6 separate regions of the Homo sapiens genome follow, and regions 1, 2, 3, 4 and 6 are each linked to region 5. Evidence: promoter capture Hi-C in 16 types of primary human blood cells and fetal thymus (Javierre and others, 2016). All regions are on one chromosome and are shown on one strand. Each heading gives the region's core, a stretch centred on a gene start or on the middle of the fragment in contact. The rest is flanking DNA. Distances are from core to core; before and after follow the strand shown. Region 1 holds the start of BZW1-AS1 (BZW1 antisense RNA 1). Region 2 holds the start of CFLAR (CASP8 and FADD like apoptosis regulator). Region 3 overlaps NIF3L1 (NGG1 interacting factor 3 like 1). Region 4 holds the start of KCTD18 (potassium channel tetramerization domain containing 18). Region 5 holds the start of NOP58 (NOP58 ribonucleoprotein). Region 6 has its middle 5.3 kb from the start of CASP8.

Region 1 (4,810 bases), core at 280-2,779, 1.5 Mb before region 5:
GTAATATTCTAGGAGATATGAACTATTAATAATAAGCAGTAAACAGTTTTTTCTAAACAATCCTATAGCTAACATACCACATGCCATTACACTGTTCTCTTGTTGGTTTTTATTTTGCTTCGTTTTAATGAATGTCTTGAATGCTATATAACTTAGAATGCACATATTTAAATCACCCCAAATATCACTTATTTGGCAACTCACTTCAAACTATATTCTGAACAAGCACTTTACAGGAGCAAAGAGTTTTCACCTTAACCTGTCATTATTCTGATGTTAAGAGGGGAGAGAGAGAAACAGAAAATGCATGTATGCCAAATTTCTTGAATCCCTAAGCTTCCCAATTATTTCGGCCTATTCAAAAATCGAGTCCAGGTGTGGTGGCTCACGCCTATAAATCCCAACATTTTGAGAGGCAGAGGTGGGAGGATTGCTAAAGCCCATGAGTTGGAGGTCATTCTGGGCAACATAACCAGATCCTGTCTCTATTAAAAAAAAAAAAAAAACTAAAATCTAAATAATAGAGTGTGTTTGCTAAAAGAGGGTATTTATTTAACAAATATTACTAAAATGTTAATGTAACTAAGCAATGCTTTTTATCTTGATTATGTCAAATATTATTAATAATTATAACTATTAAAATAATTCTATGAAGAAGTAAAAGAAATGGTATATATGAGATATGTAGCAAGTGAATGATATTTAACACATTTTTTACCTAAAATGAAATTATTTAAAAGCTCATTGTACCTCAAAGCTTTTTCACTGTAAAAATTTTGTGGAGCCTATGAAAATACTTCTGGCCACACATACATACATAAATATATGCATACATATATAGGTGTGTGTAACTAGAAGTATTTCATATACATATGCTACAATATTTAAGCCAGGTTCATAGGATGTTCTATAAGCTTCTACAAGACTCAAAGCATAGGAATAAATACTTCCCCCAGCTCATTTTCCAAGGGCAACAATGTGCTTTTCAAAACAGGCCCTTGATATTCTTCTAGTTGTTAGGAATAAAAACCTATTGTCACTTGCTTTTAAAAAAGAAACACTTAGGTATCCATTCCCATCAATGAAGTTAAAAGCAGTAGCACATTCACATGTTGCACTTAGCACCTTTCTTTTTAAGTAGTTCAAAATTTTTAAATCCAAAAGTACTAAGGGGGATTCACAGCAATGGCAGAGTGAAGAAATCAGCATATCCTTTTTCCCAAAACAACCATAAAACTGGGCAAGGCTAGGCGTGATGATTCACACCTATAATCTCAGCACTTTGGGAGGCTGAGGCGGGAGGCTCACCTAAGGCCAGGAGTTTGAGACCAGCCTGGGCCACAAAGCAAAACCCCATCATCACCAAAAAAAAAAAAAAAAAATTAGCAGACTCAGTGGCTCATGCCTGTAGCCCAATTACAAAGAAGGAATGTGTTCACATCCATGACTAAGAAAGGCTTATGGGAAAAAAGCAGTAGTTGAGATAAGGCTTGAAACAATAGTGGGATTTTGACAGTGGAAAATGAGGGAAGGACATCTCAAGAAAGGTCAAGACAAGATGTGTCCTGTCTGACCAAAGCATAGAGTTCAATTGTTTGGAACCTTTTCCTACCATAATACAATTCACAAACAACGTTTCCCCTGCTAGCTGCACGGTGCCTATTCCCATGGGTGCACCCAAAAGCAGAGAAAAGATAAGTGGCAAGGTGTGGTCTGTAATCCCAACACTTCAGGAGGCCAAGGTGGGAGGATTATTTGAGGCCAGGAGTTCAGGAAAACCTTTAATCCACTTTACATTTTAAAGAAAATAATCTGCTTACTTTAATATCATTTTTAGTCAAAAATCATTTGCTACATACCCCACAATGATGGTAATAACAGGTTAAGAACCACAAATGTGATGGGAAGTAAAGGTGAAAAACATTGGTCAGAGCTATCCCTGAGTATAAACAGAGGCATTTAAACAGTGAAGAGAAATGATTCAGCTTGCAGTTGAGAAGATTGCTCTGGAAATGTTGAGAAAGGGGATAGTACAGTTAGGAAGTTATTGCAAAAGTCCCATTTAGTTAGGGGTAATAGATGCCTAAATCAAGATGGTACTGGGGAAAGATGATACAATTTTAAAACGTGGCAAAAATAGAAGATAAGCTTTGTGAGGCCATAGGCGTAACATGTCACTATCTCTACTGGTCTCTAGCTGAATAAATATTTGTTGAATGAATAAATAAGATCTTGGTGGTAAGGCGGTGCATTATAATGGTGAAGCCAGACTGCTTGGGTTCAACTGGACCTCTTCCACTTACTAGCGCTATGATCTTAGACAAGTTACCTGACCTCGATGCCTCGGCTTTTCCATCTGTAAAATGGGACTAATAATAGTGTCTAGATTACAGGGTAGTTTTCAGGATGAAATGGGGTTACTACATAAAGTGCATAGAAGAGGGCCTGATACATATAGGGACATATTAGTTATCATTTTTATTTGTGAAACGTTGTCCTTTAACAGAACTTCAGATGTGAAAAATACAGTTCTGGGGGAAGAGCAATTGACAGCACTGACAGTGTTAAATTAGCCATGAAGTGAAGATGCCAGATAGTGTGGACTGGGGCCTTGGGAGAAAGGAAGGGGCTAGACACTTAGAGATCAGACTCCAGCCACTTCCCTCTGCTCCCCACAGCCCTCCCAATCACACTAGCTTCTTGCAGTTCCTCCAACAGATGCAGTTTGTTTCCTGCCTCCTTCCCACTGCTGTTGCCTCAACTTGGAAGGGCATAGAGCCTGGATTTAACAAATATTTGCTTAATGATTCAGTAGATGATCTTGGAACTCTTTTAAGTGGAGTAAATGTTAAATCCTTGAGAATGTATGAGACTGCCATAGAAGAAAGTATCCAGAAAGAAAAGGTATCAGTACAGAAAAGAAGAGTCAGAAAATACCGTGCAAAGGCACATTCAGAACGTAACCAGGATAGCTGGAGCCAGGATTCAAGGAGAGAGGTAGGTAACATTCAATGCTCAGAGGAGGCAAACAGGGTGAAGAATAAAACACTGGGTTTGGCAATAATTTCAGGAACGAACGCTGAGAAAGTCATTTTTCCATGAAGTTGCGGGGGGGTGGGGTAGAGGTCAGATAGTTAATTAGGGAAAAGAAGTCAACAAACTATTTTATCAAAAGGTTTAGGGAAGAGAAGCCACTCTCCTCCTACCAGAGAGTGAGGAAGCAACTGGAGAGAAGTAAACTACTGTACAGTGAATAAAAACATGGGGCTACATCCTAGAGGCGCTGTGCATCTTTATCTGCACAGAGTTTTGTCACGTCCACAGTGCTTTTCACACGCACTATCTAATCTGATCGTACCCCAGCTCCCTGATGATATAGCCTCTAACTGAGGGGTTCTCAAGGTGCGGACCAGCAGCAGCATCACAGATAACTTGTTGGAAATGCACATTCATGGGTTCCACACCAGGCCTACAGAATGAGAAACTACGGGTGGGGCCCAGCAGTCTGTTATAACAAGTCCTCCAAGGGATTCTGATGCTCTCCAAGTCCCCATAGCCACCACACTCGGGAGACAACCGCTGCAGCGCGCAGGGACCGCGGTTGGAGGACAGAATTTCCCCTTCTCAATCTTCGGCCTGTGTCCTCTTCGCTCTTAAGGGAGGTAGTGAACAATGAGACAGCCCCTCAGAGAAAAGTCGCCAGGCAGGGGACTCAGCTGGAGCGAACTCCGCCCATCCCGGCCAGGGCGGAGGCGAGGTGCGGATTCCTTCCCCAAACCACGCCCCCATGCCCGCCCCCAGCCTCCGCCCCCGCACGACCCGAGGGCCCCCCGCCCTCGGGCTTCGACTTCCGGTGCTGGAGGAGGGGGCCGGCGGCGAGGGACTCCAGGAGGACGCGTCCAACTTCGAGACCGGCGGGGGCCGGCTCCGCTCTTCCAACCCCTCCATGTGTGAAGAGGGCGGACGACGCAGCGGGGGAAGAAAAATAAGCTAGTCTAGGACAAGTGTCCAGGCGACGTGGAACCCAGTAAGGGAATAAAGAAGACTGGAAACGTCTCTCCCCTCCCCTATCCCAGTCCCTCACCCTAATCCGCGCGCAATAGAAAAGGCGGAAGCGCCTGTCCACGATCAGGGCGGGGCAAGGGGAAGAAATCTCGCGATAGGAGAGCGGTCCGGGCGGGGGTGGCACCTCTCCCTCCTCCTGGCGTTAGTTCCGGTCGCAGAGGAGACACCGCCGCAGTTGCCGGTACATCGGGGATTTCTGGCTCTTTCCTCTTCGCCTTAAATTCGGTGAGACGCGGCGCCCCGCTCACCCCGGGCGGACGCTGCGGGTCGTGGACGCCGGGCAGAGGGAGAGGGAGGCGGCGGGCTGGATGCGGCCCGGCTTGGATGGGCCCGAACGGAGGTCGCCTCTTGAGGCCGGGCCGGATCTAGGGCCTGAAAGGCCGCCGCTTCGGCAGGGAGGCCGAGGGGTAGCGGCGGCCCGGGTGGGGAGGTGGGGTCCGGGTGTGCGCCGCGGCGCTGGCTGCGAAGGCAGTGGCCGAGGCGGGCTCCCTCTGGGCCGTGCCCGGCCTGGCTAACAAAGCCGCCGCGGCCTCTGTTGTGTGATGTACGCGTGGGGGCTTCCGGCGGGCGGGGCGGAGGGGCTGCCACCCACCACCGCTGCGGCCGCCGCCTCCGCCGCTGCTTTCGCTGGAGGGCGGGCGGATGTACGGGGCGCCTGGGGCCCCGGCGCAAAGCGCCTCAGTGACTGTGGTCCGCTCGTTGCGGCGGCCGCCACCGCAGGCGACAGGGTCAGTGGAGAAAGAGC
Region 2 (4,876 bases), core at 2,080-4,579, 1.1 Mb before region 5:
ACTCCTAACGCGTGGAACTTGTGTCGACATCCACCCCCGGTTACTGCATACTCAGTCACACAAGCCATAGCAGGAAACAGCGAGCTTGCAGCCTCACCGACGAGTCTCAACTAAAAGGGACTCCCGGAGCTAGGGGTGGGGACTCGGCCTCACACAGTGAGTGCCGGCTATTGGACTTTTGTCCAGTGACAGCTGAGACAACAAGGACCACGGGAGGAGGTGTAGGAGAGAAGCGCCGCGAACAGCGATCGCCCAGCACCAAGTCCGCTTCCAGGCTTTCGGTTTCTTTGCCTCCATCTTGGGTGCGCCTTCCCGGCGTCTAGGGGAGCGAAGGCTGAGGTGGCAGCGGCAGGAGAGTCCGGCCGCGACAGGACGGTACGTGCCCCGCGCTCGACCCCCGCGCTGGCGGCGCCGGAGCTGTCCCAGACCCCAAGCCCCGACGCCCGGCCCTGAGTCAGCATTGCAGCAGGCCCTGCGCCGCCGCGCCCCGCGTCCCACCCCGCGCCGCTCCTCACAGCCCTGCGCTCCGGGAAACTGCAGGTGGCCGGCAGTGGCCAGGGGATGGCGGGGGCGCTTCTGGAACCTGACTCAGTTTTGTAGGTTCCTTATCTCGGTTGTTTACCGCGGGCTTTGCGGAATGCCCCCGCTTCCGTTTCCGCCCGGCTCCGAACCCCCGAACCCCTTCTACCCGCAACTCCGCCCCGGATTCCCAGAAAGGGGCGACCTGGGCCACAGCGGTACAAGCTGCACCCCGATGGACCTGAGAGACCGGAAGTAACCCTTGGCCAACTCTGGCCGCCCCCTGCAGCCGCAGCCCCAGAGGCCCACCCGCGAGCTTCAGTGGCGGGCCCTCAGCGTCGTGTAAACTTTGCTTAAAATGATCTTGAGAGTTCAATTCTTGGGGTGAACTGTTGAGAAGATCTGGCATTTTTCCTTTCGAAAGTTGTTGGGAACGTGGACTTTCCCAACAATTGTGTATGCGCTCGATCTCACTCAGTGGGAGCCGCCGCCCTGGAGGGAATTTCACAATAGCCTGGTCAGGGCGGTTATTTTCCAGAGCAGTTTAATGTCTATTTTGCCCAAGTGCAAGGAAAGCTTGCCTTGGGAAAGCTGGGAATGCTTGGCTAATGAAAAGTTTTTAGAGCCTTTTAAAATGAACCTGTTTCTGCCACTTTTCCACCGCCTCAAAACGACTGGGAAATGTAAACTGGCTTCAAGATGTTCTTGCTTGAGGGTGTCTGGATTTGGACAGAAGGCCATGTTCTTTTAATATTAACAGTGGCACGCAGTAGAACAAAGGCCACTGAAATTCAGAATCAGTTTTTGGCTCCACGGGCAGGAAGTAAATTCAAGGACGCCAGAGGTCTTGCGAATATTTTAATTGGTTGACATTTGAAATTTGTTCTTAAGCAATGAGGGGTGAAACCAGTAGGGGGATAGCGTATAGCATAAGTAAAGCTTTTTGGACATCAACAAACTGCGATAATCTACAACAGACAGCGGGCTCTGGAAGGTTTGACCTGCTTTAGAGAGAGATTTCCGATAAGAGGAACGGAGTTTTTGGCACTTTTCGGTTTGGTGATTCCCCTAAATAACCTTACAAAAGTTTCGTTGAACAAAAAACCTGGCTGGAGCTCCAAGATCTTTTTTTTTTTTTTTTTTTTTTGAGACAGCATTTCACTCTTGTTGCCCAGGCTGGAATGCAATGGCACTATCTCTGCTCACCGCAACCTCCGCCTGTCGGGTTCAAGCGATTCTCGTGCCTCAGCCTCTCAAGTAGCTGAGATTACAGGCATGCACCACCATGCCCGGCTAGTTTTGTATTTTTAATAGAGACGGGGTTTCTCCATGTTGGTCAGTCTGGTCTCGAACTCCTGACCTTAGGTGATCCGCCCGCCTCGGCATCCCAAAGTGCTGGGATTACAGGCGTGAGCCACCATGCCCGGCCCAACTCCAAGATCTAAACAAAAAAGACTGGGTTGAAAGGGAGTTTTTAATGTTTACTGTTTGCTTTACATCCATTTTCTTGTTTTGTTAATACTTGCTTTACTTAAGCTTTTGGGTCAAATGTCCTCGTTAAAATGGCTTTCTCTAGCGACTTTATGTTTTACGTTTCTGTTTGTAACTGACATTTGACCTTCTTTTAACACGGTATTACTTGCTTCCTTATACCGGTTTCCAAGGTGAAGCCATTTGCAGGGTCGCTGGGTTTCCCCCTCCCCCCGAAAGTCTTGCGCGACCCGGGGTGGGCCGGATAGTGTGCAGTTTTTTGAGCCTTGGGCTGGGGACCTCCAGGAAGCTGAAGCGGAAATTGCCTAGGCCCCTGGGGCATTGGAGGTCCTACCGCAGCTCCTAGTAGGTGGTGGGGGCGCAGCGGCTGTCCCCACTCAGTCCTGGTGGGGTCGCACGTAACGGTCCTGAGCTATGCATAAGCCGTTTGACCACGCATGGAGAATTTTACCACCCAGAGACACGCGAGTGGCCCTGTGCAAGTTTCAACTGCGCGGGGGGCGGGGAATTCCGCAGACAGGATTCTAGAATTTATGTCTTGTGTGGTAACATTTCAGCCGGTGGGTGGCGGGGATTAGGCGTGAAGCGGTTCAGCAGGCAGAGGTTCTCGGACGCCCTCCGGCGAAGCCACCTGTTGATGCTTTTGACTTTCTGTCCTTGTTCCTCGTCCCATCTGGAGCATTTCCAATTCTGGTTTTGCGGAGCAGCAGGTCTGAGCTTGTCCGGCGAGGGTGGGAGTTGGTCCCGGCGGAGATCCAGTGGGAAGAGCCGGCGGCTGCCCGGGCGTGAGTAGACCGAGAATCCTGCCCGATCCCCGCCCCTGGGCTGGTGTCGCCCTGGGCTCCTGGGACGTCGGGGCACTGTCCCCCGATACTGGCAGAAAAGGATTGAGTCCTCGCTTTTGGCCCTAGGTCTCCTTGAGCCTCCAGAGGACTCACAACACTCCGGGGCATGTTGCTCTTTCAAATACCAGGAATGGACTCTGGGGAATGGGGCACCCTTGAAGTCTGATTATTTCTTCCCTGTAGAGCCCCAGGGGCTAATTAAACTCGTGTTTATGGACTCCAATGCCTCCTTGCCTTTAATTCAGTATAATCCTACCAACATTTATTGAGCTTCTCTGGGCCAGGCAGAGTTCTGGGTGCCGAGGACATAGAAATGGATCTAAACTTGGTTCTTGTCCCCATAACCTCACAATGTGGTTGAGGAAGACTCAGCAGTTACCTACACAGGTAACTTCGAGTCAAGGCAGTTTAGACAAGATCCACTGACAGCCTGACTGGAGGAAGCCTGTGGGCCATGGTGGGGCAGTTATGACACCATGGGTTCTTTTTGTTTATTTGTTTGTTTGTTTTGTCTTTTCTTTTAGTATGCCCAGGTAACTTGCAGAACCCGGTCGTTCTTTCTTACTATAGATCAGTGAGGTGAAAAGCACTATCATTATTGGAATGCCCTGTCTCTCCCTTATACTCTCTTCCTGTCATCTCCCCTCAGAAGACTTGACACCCCACCCTGGTGCCCTTTCTCTGTACTTTCATATGCTCAGCGGCTGTCTTTGCACTTGCTTCAGGATTGTACCTAACATTCTGTACTGTAATGCATTTTCTTCAGACACTCTTCAGTCAAGTTGTATTATAATTATGAGTTAAAATACATGCAAAGTAAATAGAGAAAACCTCCAGGGGTTCATTCCGTAGAGATAACCAAAGGTTTCAGTTTAATGTTTTTTTTTTTTTTTTCACACATGTGCGCTCTCAAATACAGTCTTTTACATATTTTTAAAAATAAACACTCAATTTTTTTGGTTTATTTTCTAGTTTGCAAGATATTTCATTTTTTAAAATTGTGTTTATTTACAACCTGCTTTTTTCTAAAAAAGATTCAAGGTGGGGCCTTCTTTTCTTTTCTTTTTTTTTTTTTTTTTTTGAGATGAGGTCTTGCTTGTTGCCCAGGCTGGAGTGCAGTGGTGATCATATCTCACTTCAGCCTCTAACTCTAGGCTCAAGCAGTCATCTCACATCAGCCTCTGGAGTAGCTGGAACTACAGGTGTGTGCCACCACACCCAGCTACATTTTTTTTTTTTTTTGAGACAGAGTCTCACTCTGTCACCCAGGCTGGAGTGCAGTGGTGCTATCTCTGCTCACTGCAGCCTCTGCCTCCTGGGTTCAAGTGATTCTCCTGTGAAAATTGCTTCCTTTTCTACACTTGTTCTGTATTTATGTTCCTCTGATGGTCTCCACTTCTAGCCACTTTCTTTTTTTGGCGATTTAAGTTTTTGGCCCAAATAGATAAACATCTTCTACATTATTTTTCTCTTATTCTCGATACTGGGTTGCCATCTTTGGTGATTTAGTACTTATTATGAAAGAGAGAAGCTACACCACTTGATACCACTTTCATCTGCATACTCATGATAATTTGTATCTTCTGCAGTGAACTCTTAAGTTGAAGAAATGAATAATTTATATGTATATTTGTATACTTTTAAAAATGTAATTGAAAAATCCTCTCATAGTTACTTAACTCCAAGGTTTAAAAATGCTTCCCAGGGTAATGAGTTTCTTTAGTCATGTGACTTTAGAAATGGGAACCAAAGCTTCCTTATCTACTTGTGAAATTCTTGAGTTTTTTCCTTGAACTTCCTTTTTATCTTCCCTTTGGCTTATATATCTGTGTTTTTTGTTTGTTTTTACTTGCAGCTTTCAAAAGTAGTTTTCAAAGTCAATGAGATTGTTTAAAAGAGTAGGTACCTGACAGTCTCTTGCTTGAATACTATCTAGTGAGTGAACCAAATTCCCTGCAACAATAACCACAACTTTGAATCAAGAGTTAAATGAAAAAAGTAACTCCTTCAGCATTTACTGA
Region 3 (4,411 bases), core at 1,491-3,990, 1.4 Mb before region 5:
CTGTTATTTCACTTTCCAGAGGATGCTTTTTGAGAATAAATAGTATATTTAAAAATAGTGCCAAATCCATTTGTAGCATTCCTCTTTTTATAGTCCTTTTAGTTCCTTAGCTTCCTCACCTGAGAATAGAGATAGTACTTGCTTACCTCTCACTGTTGTCTGAAGACCCAGGTGAGATTATTTTACCTAGCACTGTTGCAATACAGCCTAGAGCTGCACCATTAGTACTATTCAGTGGTTTGTGAGTTTGTGCAGCCATGTCCAAAGGAATAACGGTGCCCCCTTCAGCAGCACATATACTAAAAATTGGATGATATAGATTAGCATGGCCCCTATGCAAAGATTACACGCAAATTTGTGCATTGTTCCGTATTTTGCGCAATTTACAAAGGTTGTTGAAAAAAAAAAACACAACAAAGGAATAATAACCATGCCTTGGGTTAGCTATGCAATATCAAAGAATGACCTGTTTGCTTATATTAAAACATGTTTTTTTTAAAATGCAGTAAGAACAATTCATATACTGGTGATGAGACCAGGAGTGAAATCTGTATTATGTTTAGGATTCTTGGTACAAATTATAATAGTAAAATGAAAGGGAATTGTAAAGTATTGGTCTCTTGTTTCCTCTGTTTTGAAGAGTCTCAAGTCAAAGTCGTGGCCCTGTGTGCTGGTTCTGGGAGCAGCGTTCTGCAGGGTGTTGAGGCTGACCTTTACCTCACAGGTAGGACAGACTTTGGATCTCTCTTGGTTTATTTTTTGCAAAATCAAAAATGGCAAATTTTAGGACAGTACCTGGCACATAGATGATACCTAATTAATGTTTTCTGAACCTGAACTAAACAGAAACTACAACAGAACTGGGGACTTACTGCATTCTTTGTGGAGGGATGAAATCATTGAACAGTTTATTACATTATCTCAAAAGTTAATGGTCAGCATTTATTTTACCTACATTCTTCCTAAACTGTCCCAAACCTCTCAGATTTCACATCAGTGGGATACTTTCTACCCTGTCACCTTAGCTAGGAAATGGTTCCTTTTACTCAGCCTAAAGCCAATCATCAATTCCTATCAATTCAAGCTCCCAAATCTTTCTAGAATCTTCCCCCTTATCTCTATCCAGGCACCATCTCCTACTTGAAGTACAGCATCAACCCTCTAATGGTATCTTCCATATACTCTCCTGAAATTAACTTTTCAAAGTGCAAATTTGATGGTCTTGATTAAAAAGACTTCAGTGATTTCCTTCATCTGTCTGGTGGAGCCTGAACATTGCATCCCCTTTCCTGTACCCTTTGCTTATGCTGTTTTCTCTGGCTAGAATGCCTTTTCCTTGTACTCCTAGTGATAAGTGAACACCCCCTCTGAGAAGCCTTCTCTGACACTGTCCTGCTCCTGCCTCTTGTGGGTCCCTATCACTTTGTCCTTGACCTCCAATGTGCACTTCTGTTGGATAGTAATTGTCTGGCTGCTGGGCCTTATACTTTCTCATTTAGGATACTACCTAATAGGTCCTGGCTAATTTTTATTGAAAGAATTACTTTATGTAGTTACTACTCAGGAATATGGCCAAACATGGCCCCTTACACCTCCAAAGGATTTGGAGGCATTTTAAGGGGTTGCCACTTTGTTTACCTCCTCCTTCTTAGGGTTAGGAGAGAATGAGTTAAAGAATTACTTTTCCCACTTTGAGGACCAGGCTCTAGGCTCTTAGCCCTCTGGCCATTCCTTTGGCTACTTCCATGCTTCCCTTGCCTCCCACACCCACACTTTGTTATATAGCACACTCTCTTACAAAGGCTGCTGCACTCAAAGCATTGTCACATCCTGAAGTACCGAGGAGCAGCATCTGAGCAAGCCTGATGGAATTGCTCTAAACCAATAAATTGATTTAAAAAAACAAAACATGTATGTGACTATTACTTATTTTATATTTTCTGAAGATAAAAGATTTTTGTAAGCCCTTAAATTTCTACCAGATTAAAGTGAAATTTCAATATGAATATCTTACAGTATTGTGTCTGGCTATTTTAAAATTCATTTTAGCATTTTACTTAGGAATTTCAGACCTATGCAAAAGTTGCAAGAATAGTATACTGAACTCCTATATGCTCTTCACCTTGGTTACTATGGTTATATTCTGCCATATTTGTACATTCCCTATGTGCATATTATATATGTGTCTATACACATTTGTGTTTGCATGTATAGATACATAATATATACAAGTTAAAATATGTTCTATATATATATTGATGTATTTCCCCTAGGACCATTTTGTAATCAATTGCAGACATGACAATTTCTTTACCTCTCAATACTTCAGTGTATAGTCTAAGAACAAAGACATTCTAAGTCCATGGAACAATTATCAAACATGGGAATTTAATATTGTTAAAACACTTACTTGATATACAGTCCATATTCACATTTTCCCAATTGATAAAAGCTTATAGCATTTCTTTTTCTGATCCATATCCAGCCAATGATCTCACATTGCATTTAGTTGTTGTTAGTCTCCTTCAGTCTGGAATAGTTTCTCAGCTTTGTCTCCATAGCATTGACATTTTTAAAGAGTATAGGCTCTTTGTTTTGTGCTTCTCTCTCAATTTGGGGTATCTGTTTCCTTATACTTTTTTAAAAACTAGTTTTTTAAAACAATGATAAAGTATAATGATACGTGCATAAGATAAATTCAAGCAGTTCCAAAATGTTAAAATGTCCTTCCTATCTGGCTGTGGGGAGAAATAGAAAATATATTATCCGGCTAGCATTAGCTGTCTCTGGTCTGTGAGGCATCACTTTTGAGTATAACTTCAGAGATGTGAAGCCCCACCTAAAGGACCTCTGCTGAACTTCATCACGCTTCCTGTGAGCCTGAGGCCGTGTTCTCATTGTATTAGGTTGTTAAGGGTAATACCCCGTAAGACCAGCAGATGGGGAGCCTGCTCCTTGTAAATTAAGTTCTCCCATTTGTCTTTTCATTCTCCATTTGCTTATTCTTTCCCAAGCTGCCATCCTGGGCCAAGCTTTTCTTTCCATTGGCTTCAGCTATTATTGCAGGGTCTTCACTGATTTCCCCCCTTTCATGCCTTCTCCAGCCAATGAATTTGTCACAGTACAGGCAGCCAGACTTACCTTTCCTAAAACAAGGCTTCCAACTGGGCCATCTTAGTGTCTTTTTCTTGCTTTTTACTTCTACTATTATAGATTAAGATGTTTTAAAAGGTGCTTGAATAAAAACTGTTCCTTATAATGAGATGACACTTATTAGGAGGAGATTGTGGGGAACTAAAAAATTCTGGAATTAAGAAAACTCATTTTTTTACTTATAGGTGTTTTCTTATGGGAAAATTAAAAGAGAACTCATTTTTTTCCAAGAACCCTTTTTTCTTAAATTTATATGCCCTTCTGTCTCTAAATACAGTTCAAAATTGTACTTTTTAAAGAACAAACCTAATTGTACACAGTACAGTTTTGCTCTTAAATTAGAAGTCATCAAATTCACAAACTGCATTTTAAGAAATTCAGAATATTAGGCTGGACATGGTGGCTCACGCCTGTAATCCCAGCACTTTGGGAGGCTGAGGCGGGCAGATCACTTGAGCCCAGCAGTTCGAGACCAGCCTGGCCAACGTGGTGAAACCCCATCTCTACTAAAAATACAAAAATTAGCCAGGCATGGTGGTGGGTGCCTGTCATTCCAGCTACTCGAGAGGCTGAGGCAGGAGAATCACTTGAACCCAGGAGGCAGAGGTTGCAGTGAGCTGAGATCGTGCTACTGTACTCCAGCCTGGGTGACAGAGCAAAACTCCATCTAAAAAAAAATTAACAATATAAATTAAAAATTCAGAATATGAATTTTCCCCAAATCTTTTCACAACAGATGAGATTCCCTCCAGAGTTTCTAGGGATTTTGCTTAAGTCAAAGAAAAATACTTTGTTTTTAACCTGGAAGTAATCTTAAATTCATTTCATCCTTATATATTAGACTAAGTTGACGACAGAAATACTGGTGCTTACAAAGCATAAGTCTGCTGGGCAGTATACATATAATTTCCTCCAGAGGTATTTATTACTTACATAAGAGGCAAATTTTCTGAAGGCCTCATTTTACTTGGCAGTGATCATTCATTTTACCGTGGAAACACTTTGAATGGGTGTTTACAGATCTGGTTCTGGCCAGATATGTTGGATTGGATAATTGCCTTGGGGTCTGCTAAGGAAAAAGAAGTTGGAATTCTCAGTGGGATGGATTTTATTTTTATATTTTCAAGATAGTCTTACTCTGTCACCCAGGCTGAAGTGCAGTGGTGCAGTCTCGGCTCACTGCAACCTCCAGGCCCTGGACTGAAGCTATTCACCTGTCTCAGCCTCCTGAGTAGCTGGGATTACAGGCACGCACCAC
Region 4 (4,481 bases), core at 1,630-4,129, 1.8 Mb before region 5:
AGTACTGGCATTATTGAATTGAAGGATTTTATATAATATAAGAGAATTTCGAGATATGCTAAGAAGTTGGAAAATGTTGGCTAAGAGGATTTGTAAAAGATAATAAACGACTAACAACCCAATCATTGCTGTTGAAATGACTGTTTAAACATGGTAATGCACTCTCTGTCACACAGCAAACAAAGGAGAGGCCTGCTTATGATCTTCAGTATTCACATATCTTTTTAACCATGATAAGTCTGAGGGAGCCTCTAGACTGCAGAGATCAGTGGACAGCATGGAATTGAGCTGCTAGGCTCTTCCCCTCACCAGCTCTAGGATCTTGGGCAAATTACTTATCTTCCTCTTCCATAAAATGGAGGCAGTGATGATGCCCAGCTCAAAGGACTATAAGAGGAATAATTAAAAGAATATATAAAACAGCAAAAGAGCAGAATCTAGCTCATGGTAACTATTCAATAAATTATAAATATTATGCATAATGATATAAATTTAACCATAAGGTGTCTACTGAGGGACTTGATATTGACTCTGGAAATGTAAGGAAATAAAGGAGCAGGAATTATTAACAATGATAACTATAATTCTTAAGTTAGGTAACTAAGGAATATATAATTTATCAACTGAGATTATAATTCTTCTTTTAATTTTTTTAAATTTTTAAAAAATGAGACAGGGTCTCGCTGTGTTGCCCAGGCTAGTCTTGAACTCCTGGGCTCAAGCAATCCTCCTGTCTTGGCCTTCCGAAGTGCTGAGTATACAGGCATGAGCCACCACGCCCAGCCTGAGATCAGAATTCTATGTAGACCAGTAGCCAGGCCAGTCTAGAACTACAAATAACACCTCCAAATCATCCAGCTTCTTCACTGTGAAATGGATGAAGCTTTAGGGAAGTTTTGGGGGGTTTTTGTTTGTTTGCTTGTTTGTTTTTTGAGATGGAGTCTCGCTCTGTAGCCCAGGGTGGAGTACAGTGGCGCCATCTCGGCTCACTCCCGGGTTCAAGCAATTCTCCTGCCTCAGCCTCCTGAGTAGCTGGGACCACAGGTATACACCATCATGCCGGGCTAATTCTTGTAATTTTAGTAGAGACGGCGTTTCACCATATTGGGCAGTCTGGTCTCCAACTCCTGACCTCAGGTGATCCACCCACCTCGGCCTCCCAAAGTGCTGAGATTACAGGCGTGAGCCACTGCACCAGGCCCAGGGAAGGTTTAAGGGTTGGATTTTTTTAATCCATTCTGGAGATCACAGAACCACAAGTGACACTGTGGTGTTTTCCCACCTAAAACAATACTGTGATGAAAAAGGTACTCCCAATTATTGAGAATCTGCAGTATCCACACATTTCATAGCAAGTTGAAAATGGCTGCCAAAAGGCTCAACTACATCCATGTCAATTCACTTTTACTCAGTGAACAACTAAGATCGTTTTGTAGATGCCAGCTAGTCTCCAATAAAATGGAAGGAGACCATTAAAATCTGAGGAAGACCATGTGTGTAGAATACGGTCAGCAACAGAAACCATTATGGGCCAAAGGTCCAGCCTTCCAAAACCACTTATGGATGTGACATCTCGCACTGCCTAGAAGTCCTGGGAGCAGCACTCCAAAGATCCATGTGTGAGAGCCACCTCTGAGGCATGGGATGGAACTTGTTCCCTCTGCCTCATTACTGGCTCCCTGGAATCCTATCTATTCTTCAAGGCCTTCAGCAAACCTAATTTCTTGCATGACCGTCCCACGTATCCTTCTGCCCCCCAAGTTAGAATCCTTGCACAATTCTACAAATATACTGTGTGTCTGTCCACTTTTTACCCCACTTGTTTAATCCCTACTTTTTGGTCTGTAGGCCAAGGAAGCCAGGGCCTGTGTCACTCTTAATAACTCCCATTTACTGAATGCTTATTATGTGCCAGCCATTGTAAGAGACACTTGACACACTTTACCTAATTCACACAAAAACTCTATTGGATGGGAATTACTGTCCCTGTTGACAGATGAGGCCATTGGGGTAAAAAAAAAGAGTGATGTGTACAGGGGCCACACAAGGACTGACTGCTAGTAGGTTGTGGAGCCAGCCCCAATCCAGAACGGCAGGACGAACCCCAAGTTCTTCCTGCTTCACCCCACACCGCCTCCTCCAGCACTGTTTCACCCCTATGGATCCTGACCCAGCCCTTTCACTCTCTAAGCATCTGTCCATCTCAAGACTTGGCTACGATAACACAGCAGCACCCCGATCCCGAGGATTTAAGAGCTACTCCTCCTACCCCAACCCCAGGCAGTCTCTCCTAAGGATAGGAACATCATCATTCCAAGGCCACACCAGGGGGGCACTCCGCAGGCCCCATCCTCAAAAGCACCCAGTTAGGCTCCCTGCTATGTGGAAAGTGTCCAGCCCTCGGGGACAATGTCCCCCAGAGTGCATTCCTATGATCACCTGCATCAAAACCATCAGGGACGCTTGGGAAAACGAAGACACTCCGGCCACAGCACACAGTTCCTCAGAAAGTCTGAGGAGGGGTCGGGATCTGCCCGCGAACCCCACTTTGAAAAACATCGCTCAAGGGGCTCACACTCCTCTTCCGAAGCGGGAAGAGCCGGGAGGAGCTGGGGAGCCAGAAAGCCCCGCCACGGTCTTCCGCGGCCTGGAGACCCCAAATCGGCCCGAAGCCCGAGCCTGCAGCCCGGGGCGCGCGCGTTACCAGCGCGGCCCGTGCCCTTCCTCAGGGCGCCCCGCCGCCTTCCGGGCCCGCGGCCCATCCCGCGCCCGGCTCTTCCGCACCGGGGGGGTGGGGCGGGTCGGCAGCTTCCCAGACTGACCTGCGGCCCGCCAGACCCTCGGCGCGGCCGCCGGACGCCGCGGGGCGGACGCGGAAGTGAACGCCTTCTCAGCTGCTCGGCAACTCGGGAGCAGAGCGGCCCCAGCGGCGCCCCCGTGCGGCCCGGCTCTGAGGCAGCGGCTCAGGGAGGGAGGGAGGCCACGTCCCGGGCACGCCACGCCACGCCACGCCCCGCCCCCAGATTCGTCTCGCCCCAGTGGGCCGCCTCGGAGTCGGGTGGGTCTTCCATCCCGGAGGTAAGGGAAACACACGGTAGAGAAGGCCAGGGCTGAACCCCAAGGGACGGTCTTGTGTGTTCAGAGGCTGGTTTTACAGGTGAAGAGAAGAAACAGCCGCAGAAGTTGCGATTGTCCAAGGTCACTTAATAAGTGGCAAGAATTAGGATGTTAAGTGTTCTCACCCCCAGGTCAGTGCCCATCCCTCCAAACAGGGCTGCTCAGTGCCAACGTGTGTTAATATATTGCACTTGGATAAGTCTATCTGGATAGTGTCTGCAGCTTACAAAGCTTTTTCACACACAGCATTCTTGTTTAGTCTGTGTGACAGTGATATAAAGGGTGATATTTATTTCCCATTATAGCAAGGAAAATTGAGGCGAGAGCAAACATTTATTCAACACTTTTGTACACCTGACACTGTGCTAAGTGCTTTGCATGCACTACTTAATTTCCTGTTAACGATAACCCTAAAACAGTTCTTCCAGTTTCTAGCACCATCTTACCTTGTGCAAGGTACTGTGCTAGATATTTCAAGAGAAATATAACAGTCCTGTTTTCAAGGTGCTTCCCCAAAATCAAAAATATTTGGTTCCAAATTTCCCTGACTGGCTCTTAGAAGAGAATAAGCCAAAGAGAGGTAAGTCAACCTATCCCCTTAGATATTAACAGTCTTAGGAGAGAGGGAAGGTTTGTTCAACCTGTAATTATTAAGCACTAGCTATGGAGCAAGCACTGAGAGTAAAGGACTGGAAGAGACAAATAATGGGCGTTCAACCTTACTTTCCAGTACAACATGCAGAAAACTTGTTCTGTAAATATTTTAGGCTTTGTGGGCCATGCACAACTACTCAACTCAGCAGTTGTAGTCTAAAAGAAGGCATAGGCAAAACCTGAACAAATGAGCATTGCTAGTTCCAACTTTATGGACACTGAAATTCCAATTTCACATAATTTTCATGTGTCAAAAAATATTCTTTTAAAAATGCAGCTTTTTCAAACACTTAAATATGTACAAGCCATTCTTAGATCATGGGCCAGACAAAAACAAATGGTGGTCCATGGGCCATAGTTTGCCTGCCCTTGTTCAAGTGGGAGAAACAGACACTAAGCAAAGTGGTGACAGAGAGTGATAACTAGGTGCGAGGAAATGAGTGGACATTTAAGTTGAGGGCTAGGAGTCAGAATGAGTCCACCTTCTGCAGAGATGGAGGAAGGGTATTTTAGGAAGAAGGGAGAGCAAGTCGGAAGCCCCTCAGGCAGGAAAGGACTCAGCAATTTGTAGGAAGAGAAAGGCCACTAGTATGTCTGAGCCTTGGTGGGCATCAGGACAAAGGGGAAGATGAGATGGGATGAGGTTGAAGAGAGAGGCAAGAGCCCAGACTCTAAAGTATTGTGTGGCCATGGTAGAAATTTAATTTGAC
Region 5 (4,499 bases), core at 1,944-4,443:
ACTACACTCCAGCCTGGGCAGCAGAGCAAGACTGCATCTCAAAAAAAAAAAAAAGAAAGAAAGAAAATCTCCAATTACTTTATTTGGTCAAGTTACAAACCCAAAATCAGAGTCAGCTCTGAACTCCTGATTAAAGCATCATATGGAGGTGACTATGTAAATGGTAACGTGCAAGGACAAATTCTAGGACATACCATGGCAAAGAGATTTCTCATTGAATAAGTGGTTTCATTTCATTTTGGGAATAGGATTTAAGGCTTTACACGTAAAGAAAAGAATTTTTACTTCCTGCAGACATTCATTCATTAAATTTTTAAGAATTAATTAGATTCTATTTCATGAGTAGCACAACATAACATCCTATACAGACACAAATATGTGTAAAGTAGACTCAATTCTCTAGCAGATGTCACTTCTGCTAAGGAGACTAGACAGAAAAATACTGTGCAGTTAAATAACACTATAAACAGACATGGTGTTTCTAACATCTCACCCACCCACGCATACCCCTCTCCCAATCAGGTAATTTTCGTCTCTCTTGTCTCCCTGACCACACTGGATTACAGCTGTAACTATAATCAACCATGCTTTTTTTCTTTTTTGAGACAGGGTCTTGCTTAGTAGCCCAGGCTGGAGTGTAATGGTGAGATCATAGCAGGCGTGAACCATACACTCGGCCAATTATGCTCTTGAATTCACCCTAGGCCGGGCGTGGTAGCTCATGCCTGTAATCCCAGCACTTCGGGGGGCTGAGGCAGGCGGATCACCTGAGGTCAGGAGTTCAAGACCAGCCTGGCCAACATGGGGAAACCCCGTCTCTACTAAAAATACAAAAACTAGTTGGGCATGGTGGCGTGTGTCTGTAATCCCAGCTACTGGGGAGGCTGAGGCAGGAGAATCACTTGAGCCCAAGAGGCAGAGGCTTCAGTGAGCTGAGATCGTGACTGAGATCGCGACACTGCGCTCCAGCCCTGGCGACAGACTGAGACTCCGTTTCAAAAAAAAAAAAAAAAAAAGAATTCACCCTAGATTCCTCTGTCCTGTGACTTTCTGTTATTCAACCCAGGATTTTCTTTCCTCTTAATCTCAGGTTGCAGAGTTGCTACCTATTTAATGTTCCACAATCTTGAGCAGGTTGCAATTTTTTTTTTTAGATGGAGTCTCGCTGTGTCGCCTAGGCTGGAGTGCAGTAGTGCCACCTCGGCTCACTGCACCCTCCGCCTCCTGGGTTCAAGCAATTCTCCCAGCAGGTTGCAATTTAATGATTAGGAACAATCTGCATATAGGGCCTGGGAAGTGAGTAAGGAAATTTTACCCCTGTTGGAAGACAGACTTGTGAAACAACTGGGGTATTTAATCCCAGTCCCTGAGACTGAAAGGCTTCCAGAAAAGCAAGTAACACTAAATCAAGAAGACAGTCTAAATTCAGCCCCGCACAGTGGCTCATGCCTGTAATCCCAGCACTTTGGGAAGCCGAGGTGGGTGGATCACCTGAGGTCAGGAGTTCGAGACAAGCCTGACCATCATGGAGGAACCCCATCTCTACTAAAAATACAAAATTAGCCAGGCGTGGTGGTACATGCCTGTAATCCCAGCTACTCGGGAGGCTGAGGCAGGAGAATTGCTTGAACCCGGGAGGCAGAGGTTGCAGTAAGCAGAGATCATACCACTGCACTCCAGCCTAGGCAACAAGAGTGAAACTCCGTCTCAAAAAAAACAAAGAAGAAAAAGAAAAAAAAAAAGACATTCTAAATTCATACCCTGGGGTCATTTTAACAAATGCAGCAAAAATAGGAGAGGCTTATTGAAAGAAAACTGTGCTAATAATTCATTTGGCCAGACAGAAGGGAACGGCCAGGAATGCTCACAAATATAGTGACAGTAATGGTGTCATTCTGAGGCCTTCGCCTCAAGGCAGGGCTTGAAAGGGGATAAAGTCTAATGGCACTAGCTGGCATTTCAAATTCTAGATGCCTGAGGCAGACTGGCACCGAAACAGCTCCTCGTTTCTCTCAAAGTGAACATATAATTCATAGAGGGTTAACAAAATAATATCGTGAAGTTTTTCCCCTTTAAATCTCTAGCGGTGGCGGGGCGCGGTGGCTCACGCCTGTAATCCCAGCACTTTGGGAGGCCGAGGTGGGAGGATCCCTTGAGGTCAAGAGTCCGAGACCAGCCTGGGCAACATCGTGAAACCCTGTCTCTACAAAAAATTAGCTGGGTGTGGTGGCACAGGCCTGTAGTCCCAGCTGCTCCGGAGGGTGAAGTGGGAGGATCGCTTGAGCCTGGGAGTTGGAGGTTGCAGTGAGCCGTGATAGTGCCACTGCACTCCAGCTTGGGCAACAGCCAGACTGTCTCAAAAAAAAAAAAAAAAAAAAAAAAAAAAAAAAAAAAGGCCGGGCCTAGTGGGTCACGCCTGTAATCCCAGCACTTTGGGAGGCCGAGGCGGGCGTATCACGAGGTCAAGAGATCGAGACTATCCTGGCCAACATGCTGAAACCCCATCTCTACTAAAAATACAAAAATTAGCTGGGCGTGGTGGTGTGTGCCTCTAGTCCCAGCTACTGGGGAGGCTGAGGCAGGAGAATTTCTTTTTTTTTTTTTTTTTTTGAGACGGAGTCTCGCTCTGTCGCCCAGGCTGGAGTGCAGTGGCAGGATCTTGGTTCACTGCAAGCTCCGCCCCCTGGGTTCAGGCCATTCTCCTGCCTCAGCCTCCCGAGTAGCTGGGACTACAGGCGCCTGCAACCACACCCGGCTAATTTTTTGTATTTTTAGTAGAGACGGAGTTTCACCGTGTTAGCCAGGATGGTCTCGATCGATCTCCTGACCTTGTGATCCGCCCGCCTCGGCCTCCCAAAGTGCTGGGATTACAGGCGTGAGCCACTGCGCCCGGCTAGGAGAATTTCTTGAACCCGGGAGGCGGAGGTTGCAGTAAGCCGAGATCACACCACTGCACTCCAGCCTGGGTTACAGAGCGAGACTCCGTCTCCAAAAAAGAAAAAAAGAAAAAAGAAAAAAAGGCGCAAAGGCTCCGTTCAGGCCCTAGATCCCGCGATACAAACTTTCTCGGCCCGCCCCAGCCCGCTGTGGCGGGAACATTCTGGAAGTGACGGCAATCTCTGCGGCAGTCTTCTGTCGGAAGTGACGTTGCTATCCCAGAATCCTCAGAGAAGGAGTAGCGCGTTCGTGCGTCCTAGTTCCAGTACAGCGTGGAGGGTTTAGGCAGCGTGTTCTGATTCTTTGCGGGACGGCGAGCGCATTTGTGCTTTGCCCGCCGCGGCCTAGGAGGCCTTTTGAGGCCGCGTAGTCGGTGTTTTTGAACTGACTCTACAGCTTCTGGCAGGCCGTGCGGCGCCCTGACCCGGCCTCACCATGTTGGTGCTGTTTGAAACGTCTGTGGGTTACGCCATCTTTAAGGTAGGTGGGAGAGCGAGCCGTTAAAGGGGGAAGGCGGATGCTGGACAGACGAGGAGAGGGAAAGACTTAAGCACGGAACTACTCAGAGTAGCGTGGGTGCCTGTTATAGCCCGGGCTCTGGGAGGAGGGAGAAGGCCTTTACACCTGAGAGCCATGTTACGTGTAACACGTGGCCCCGCCGTTTGGGGAGACCCGTTCTGCATTAGAGGATTTTATTTCCTCCCGTTGAAGGGGTGGGCAGGAGGCGTGTTAGAATTTAACAGATTATAGGGAATTCGGACTTTATTCTAGATGTTTTGAGGAATGATCGAAAGATTTTTTTTTTTTTTGAGATGGAGTTTCGCTCTTGTTGCCCATGCTGGAGTGCAGTGGCGCAATCTTGGCTCACTGCAACCTCCGTCTCCCGGGTTCAAGCGATTCTCCTGCCTTGGCCTCCCGAGTAGCTGGGATTACAGGCCTCCATCCACCACCACGCCTGGCTAGTTGTTTTTGTTTGTTTGTTTGCTTTTAGTAGAGACGGGGTTTCACCATGTTGGCCAGGCTGGTCTTGAACTCCTGACCTCAAGCGATCCACCTGCCTCGGCCTCCCAAAGTGCTGGGATTACAGGCGTGAGCCACCGTGCTCGGCCAATCGAAAGGATTTAAGCAGAGGAATGACCTGCTAATTTGTCTTAATACGGTTACTCTGCTGTGTGGAGATTAGACTCGAGGAGATAAGAACGGCAGCAAGAATACTTTTGCATTCATTTGGACAAGATGAAATTGCCTGGTATGGAGAGAAACAAATATCGATAGAAATTGTGAAGGTAGAACAGGAAGGACTGGCTAATAGATTGAATGTGGGGTTTTGGTTTAAATAAGATGTTAAGAAAGTTTCTTGGGGAAGGACTAAAGATTTCCGGTTTGGGCTGTGCGAAGCTTGCGTTGTCTATTAGACCTGATAATGCAGTTGTGTAGATCGGGCAGTTCAGTATTTCAGATTTGAAGCTTAGGGGAAAACATCTGGGCTGGTGATGTCAGTTTGAGGTTTGGTTGTTTTCGTGGGGAAAGTTTGACAAGTTCGTCAGCACTGAAATGGTTGA
Region 6 (5,040 bases), core at 1,301-3,800, 1.0 Mb before region 5:
GTGTCATATGTTGTAAACCACGAAAAGTTAATTTTATAACCCACCTTCTAGATCTACTGAGAATACGTGGTGTTATCACTAACAGTTTTGAGGAAAGAAATAATTGCCTAATTCATTTTGTAGTGAATGTGTTTTGTTACTACCACAGATACTCTTAAAATCCACTTATTATGGAGGGGGAAAAAAAAGGAATTTTCTTTACAGAAAGTGAGGAGTGAAACCTAATGGAGAAAATATCTGTTTCAGGGAATAACCCTCCCAACATCTGATTTTTTTTTGTTTTAGACAGGGGCTCGCTCCGTCCCCCAGGCTGGAGTGCAGTGATGCAATCATAGCTCACTGCAGCCTTGAACTCCTGGGTTTAAGCAATCCTCCTGCCTCAGCCTCCTGAGTAGCTGGGACCACAGGTGTGCACCACCACTGCACCACCACACCCGACTAATTTTTTTGATTTTTGGTAAAGACAGTATGTTGCCCAGGCTGATCTTAAACTCCTGAGCTCAAGTGATCCTCCCACTTCAGCCTCTCAAAGTGCTAGGATTATAAATGTGAGCCACTGCACCTAGCCTGATCTTTTTTTTTTTTTTTTTTTTTTTTTTTTTTAAGAAACAGTCACTAGTGCTGTATGTAGGTTACAGTAGCTATGTAGGCCCTTCAGAGTCACTTCACTTTTCTGAGCTTTCGTTTCTTCAACGTCTTCCTGTCTGTAAGACACATGCTCTTCTACCCCTGAGACCAAAAAATGTTACCAGTGAGGATCTAATGATATAAAATAGGGAAAATGCTTTAAAACTGCACAGTGCTTAACAAATGCACTGTTATTATATCATTAAAAGTGACTCCTGGGTGGTGGGAATGGTTGCATAACGACGTGAATGTACTTGATGTCACTTAAAACTGGTTACAATGGTAAATTTTATGGTATATATATTTTACCACAATTAATACATTTTAAAAGATGGTTCTTGACAATTATTCTTAGCGTCTGAGGTGCCCCATTTCTTGGGTATGGGCATATAGTGCCTCAAGAATATTGGGGATCCTCACCTCTTCTATGCCCAAACCTTTAAGAAAATTCTGGGCCAGGCGCAGCGGCTCACAGCTGTAATCCACCACTTTGGGAAGCCGAGGTGGGTCGATCACCTAAGGTCGGGAGTTCGAGACCAGCCTGACCAACATGGAGAAAACCCGTCTCTACTAAAAATACAAAATTAGCTGGGTGTGGTGGCACACACCTGTAATCCCAGCTACTCGGGAGGCTGAGGCAGGAGAATCGCTTGAACCCAGGAGGCGGAGGTTGCGGTGAGCCGAGATTGCACCATTGCACTCCAGCCTGGGCAACAAGAGCAAAACTCCATCTCAAAAAAAAAAAAAAAATTCTGGAAAAGCTAGGTCAGTGACATGAATATTGGAATCAGAGTCTAACAAACTCAATTTCTTCCTTTCTAAATCCGTGGTACGGATTCATGTCTGCAGTAGTTTTTCTGAGAAAGCAGAAGGGGTAGGTATTGGCAATCAACAAGCTGCAGAGTATGCAGATTGAGGTCAGTAACTGTAAATGCCCCATGACTGTCTGATCATTTTAATACCAAAAGAAAAACTTAAAATCCCAGTTGCTAAAATCTTTGTCTTAGACAACTCTTTGAGCCTCTCCCTACAAGGCCCAGAAAGGAATGAGATAGATGTGAATGGAATCTGTTTTCCCTTCCCTTGCCACGCTCTGGAGGAGGAGTCTAGGGCAGTAGCCAAGGCCAGCTGCCAGTCAAGGAAAGGGGAGCGGCCCCGTTGAATCCACAAACCACACCATCCTGGCCCATGGGTTATATACAAACTCCCACATTGGCAACAAACAAAGGGCATGCACATTCAGGGGATTTTGCTTTCACTGTGAGTGTTTATCTTTGAAGGGTGTCACATCAAGATGAATGGGAAGGGTGTGTTGCAGTTGAGCTGAGGTTTGGTCTTTCTTGGCTTTTTTAGGGACACTTACAGGTCCAAATCTGCTTTCAGCCGGCTGGTGGACATGGTAGGAGACACAGTAGTCTCAGGACCAGGCCTCCAGGTGGGAGCTGAGATTCTAGAGGGTGGAAACCACTTGGAGATTGAGTCAAAGCAGACCTGTCCTCATTCTGTGCTGGGCAGGAGCCAGCTCTCCATGTCCCTGCAGCTCCAGCAACACCTCCGGATCTTTCAGCTTCCCTGGGACTAAGGACCATGCACATTATTAATTCTGATATAAACAGTCACACAGGCACATGTCTCAAGATGAGGGTGAGAAGTTGGTTACAGCAAATGAAGTAATAATGATCTTTGTGCTTCACAATAGGAATTCAACCAACCTGAGGTTTATAATTCACTTATTAACACTTTTTATTTTTGTTGAGACGGAGTGTCCCTCTGTCACTCACGCTGGAGTGCAATGGTGTCATCTCGGCTCACTGCAACCTCCGCCTCCTGGGCTCAAGTGAGTCTCGTGCCTTGAGTGGCTGAGACTACAGGCACATGCCACCATGCCCAACTAATTTTTTTGTATTTTTAGTAGAGATGGGGTTTTGCCATGTTGGCTAGGCTGGTCTCAAACTCCTGGCTTCAAGTGATCCGCCTACCTCAATCTCTTCAAGCGCTGGGATTACAGGGGTAAGCCACTGTGCCTGGCCATAATTCATTTATCAGTCATATATATATACACACACACTGGGAGAATCTAGGGTCAGTGCCTTACAAATGGCACAAGTTGAAGCCCTGAGACTCCCACTCCTACCCTGCTCCCCCCATTCTCAGTACTGCTCCTCAGATGCCTCCAGCAGATCATCCATTTCTGCTAGGCTGGGCCTGGGTACATGCAGGGAGATGTGTACAGGGGCTAAGAGCAGAAACTTTTGAGTGAGACACTCCTGAGTTCATGCACTGGCCCTGCCATTTGTCAGCTAATTGATGTTGCATTTAATTGCATCATCTGTATGTAAGCCTAATAATTTATAGCCATCTTAGAGATGTTGTGAGCTTAAATAACATAGTAGTGAATATTTATTTATTTGTTTATTTATTTATTTAGACAGGGCCTCGCTCTGTCACCTAGGCTGGAGTGCAGTGGTGTGATCATAGCTCACTGCAGCCTTGACCTCCCACACTCCAGTTATCCTCTCACCTCAGCCTCCTGAGTAGCTTGAGACAACAGATGCATGCCACCATAACTGACTAATTTTTTAAAATTTTCTGCAGAGACAGTGTCTCCCTATGTTGCCCAGGCTGGCCTCGATCTCTTGGGCTCAAGCGATCATCCTGCCTTGGTCTTCCAAAGTGCTGGGATTACTGGTGTGAGCCACTGCACCCACAGCCTATTTATTGAGAAATGTGGAAGGCCCAGGCACTATTCTAAGTGCTCCAGCTGTTTTATCTCCCACAGTTTTGCTCAGATAGGAGTTCCAAAGCTGGAGCTGGAAGACTCATATTTTTAGAAATGTTACAGTTAATTCTGAGGTGGGTCAGATTGAGATTCATGGCTATGCATTAATGTTTAGGTGGTGACTAACCACTCAGGGTTTTAGAGACAAACAGACCTTATTCTGTCACTCACTGACTGAGCGTGGCCAAGTCTTTCAGCCTCTCTAAGCCTCAGTGTCCTCATCCATAAAATGGGACCAATCGTAGCATCCACTTCTGAGAACTGTTCAGAAGTGGAAATGAGCTAGTTTAGGTGGCTGTGTCTGGCATACGCCAATGGTTTGATAAGTATTAGCTTGTGCCTTTATTAGGCCAACTCCTTTTTGTTAGGTGACTGAGAAACCAAGGACCTTCTGCCCTTTATGCACCAGTCACTATTAGTTTAAATTTGTTGCTCTTCCATCCACATGATTCATTCCAAATTTGAAGTGTTGGAGAAAGGGAGTTAGTATGTCATAGAAAAATCTCTGTTTTTGGCTCAGCAGGACTGAGTTTGACTCCATGTAACTGTCTGAGTCTTAGTTTCCTCATCCATAACATGGGAGAACAATACCCTGAATTAGAGAATTCTGCTGCCAGAATTAGAGATAGTTCATGTCAAGGTGCAACATATAGGTAATGTGTTATTGCTGGTGTTCTGGTTATAAAATGTACAAGATGTGAAAGCAAAAGGGCAGAAAACCCTTTTTAAAAATTCATGGCTGGGCGCGCTGCCTCATGCCTGTAATCCCAGCACTCTGCCAGGCCGAGGCGGGTGGATCACCTGAGGTCGTGAGTTTGAGACCAGCCTGACCAACATGGAGAAACCCTGTCTCTACTAAAAATACAAAATTAGCCGGGCATGGTGGCGCATGCCTGTAATCCCAGCTACCCAGGAGGCTGAGGCAGGAGAATCGCTTGAACCCGGGAGGCGGAGGTTGCTGTGAGCCGAGATGGCACCATTGCACTCCAGCCTGGGCAACAAGAGCGAAACTCCGTCCCCCGAACAAAAAATTCAAATGGGAAAGAGAGGCAGATGGCAGAGAACAGGGGAGGGGCTGGGCACCGTGGCTCATGCCTGTAATCCCAGCACTTTGGGAGGCCAAGGCGGGTGGATTTCTTGAGGTCAGGAGTTCAAGACCAGTCTGACCAACATGGTGAATCCCCATCTCTATTAAAAATACAAAAATTAGCCGGGGGTGGTGGTGGGTGCCTGTAGTCCCAGCTACTCGGGAGGCTGAGGCAGGAGAATCACCTGAACTCAGGAGGTGGAGGTTGCAGTGAGTCAAGATCGCACCACTGTACTGTTGCCTGGGCAACGCACCGAGACTCCGTCTCAAAAAAAAAAAAAAAATGAGAGAACAGGGGAGGGTCTAGGGCTCAGAGCTTTGGAGAACAGACCTCAGTAGCACCAACACTCCAGGATCAATGCTACAAAGACACGGGTTACAACTAAACTGGAGAACATGGCCAAGGATGGGAACTCAGCCTGAGCAGGGCTGAGCCGAGCAGGGCTAAGCCAAGTAGGGCTGAGCCAGAACACTTCCTCCTTTTTTCTGAACAATCTACCTACATTTCAGCTACAGGGCTGGCTTTACCCAGTCCGGCGGGAGGGAG

Evidence for each region. The method cuts DNA at HindIII sites, captures the fragments that hold promoters and counts their contacts. A CHiCAGO score of 5 or more calls a contact.
Region 1: a fragment that was not itself captured here is called in contact with the fragment with the promoter of NOP58 in region 5 in 2 of 17 cell types (total B cells and fetal thymus); the score reaches 8.0 in total B cells.
Region 2: a fragment that was not itself captured here is called in contact with the fragment with the promoter of NOP58 in region 5 in 1 of 17 cell types (fetal thymus); the score reaches 6.8 in fetal thymus.
Region 3: a fragment that was not itself captured here is called in contact with the fragment with the promoter of NOP58 in region 5 in 1 of 17 cell types (fetal thymus); the score reaches 6.8 in fetal thymus.
Region 4: a contact is called between the fragment with the promoter of KCTD18 here and the fragment with the promoter of NOP58 in region 5, in 1 of 17 cell types (total B cells). The highest score is 5.0, in total B cells.
Region 6: a fragment that was not itself captured here is called in contact with the fragment with the promoter of NOP58 in region 5 in 1 of 17 cell types (fetal thymus); the score reaches 5.4 in fetal thymus.

Annotation. Positions count from the first base shown.
Region 1 is chr2:200,807,701-200,812,510 of GRCh38, forward strand. BZW1-AS1 (BZW1 antisense RNA 1) reads right to left here and starts at 4,470. Exons shown (of 4, transcript NR_110275.1): 1 at 4,085-4,470. It overlaps BZW1 (basic leucine zipper and W2 domains 1), which reads left to right and starts at 4,210. Exons shown (of 12, transcript NM_001207067.2): 1 at 4,210-4,290. RefSeq lists enhancers at 3,424-3,683, 4,532-4,810 and silencers at 3,734-3,883, 4,414-4,783. The HindIII fragment of the contact is 1,234 bases long and covers 913-2,146 here.
Region 2 is chr2:201,116,107-201,120,982 of GRCh38, forward strand. CFLAR (CASP8 and FADD like apoptosis regulator) reads left to right here and starts at 58. Exons shown (of 10, transcript NM_003879.7): 1 at 58-375. It overlaps LOC105373836 (a long non-coding RNA gene), which reads right to left and starts at 578. Exons shown (of 3, transcript XR_923785.3): 1 at 1-578. RefSeq lists enhancers at 44-303, 1,944-1,993, 2,342-2,845, 2,484-2,853 and silencers at 334-543, 3,962-4,021. The HindIII fragment of the contact is 2,552 bases long and covers 2,054-4,605 here.
Region 3 is chr2:200,898,745-200,903,155 of GRCh38, forward strand. It overlaps NIF3L1 (NGG1 interacting factor 3 like 1), which reads left to right. Exons shown (of 7, transcript NM_001369441.2): 6 at 641-724. It also overlaps the pseudogene RNU6-762P. Among named protein-coding and RNA genes, the nearest start is that of NIF3L1, 12 kb to the left of the region's middle. The HindIII fragment of the contact is 580 bases long and covers 2,451-3,030 here.
Region 4 is chr2:200,507,189-200,511,669 of GRCh38, forward strand. KCTD18 (potassium channel tetramerization domain containing 18) reads right to left here and starts at 2,880. Exons shown (of 7, transcript NM_152387.4): 1 at 2,440-2,880. RefSeq lists a silencer at 2,653-3,112. The HindIII fragment of the contact is 2,465 bases long and covers 882-3,346 here.
Region 5 is chr2:202,262,570-202,267,068 of GRCh38, forward strand. It overlaps NOP58 (NOP58 ribonucleoprotein), which reads left to right and starts at 3,194. Exons shown (of 15, transcript NM_015934.5): 1 at 3,194-3,417. The coding sequence starts at 3,373. The HindIII fragment of the contact is 14,423 bases long and covers 1-4,333 here.
Region 6 is chr2:201,252,721-201,257,760 of GRCh38, forward strand. It overlaps a transcript of CASP8 not described here. Among named protein-coding and RNA genes, the nearest start is that of CASP8, 5.3 kb to the right of the region's middle. RefSeq lists an enhancer at 4,861-4,910. The HindIII fragment of the contact is 6,710 bases long and covers 1-5,040 here.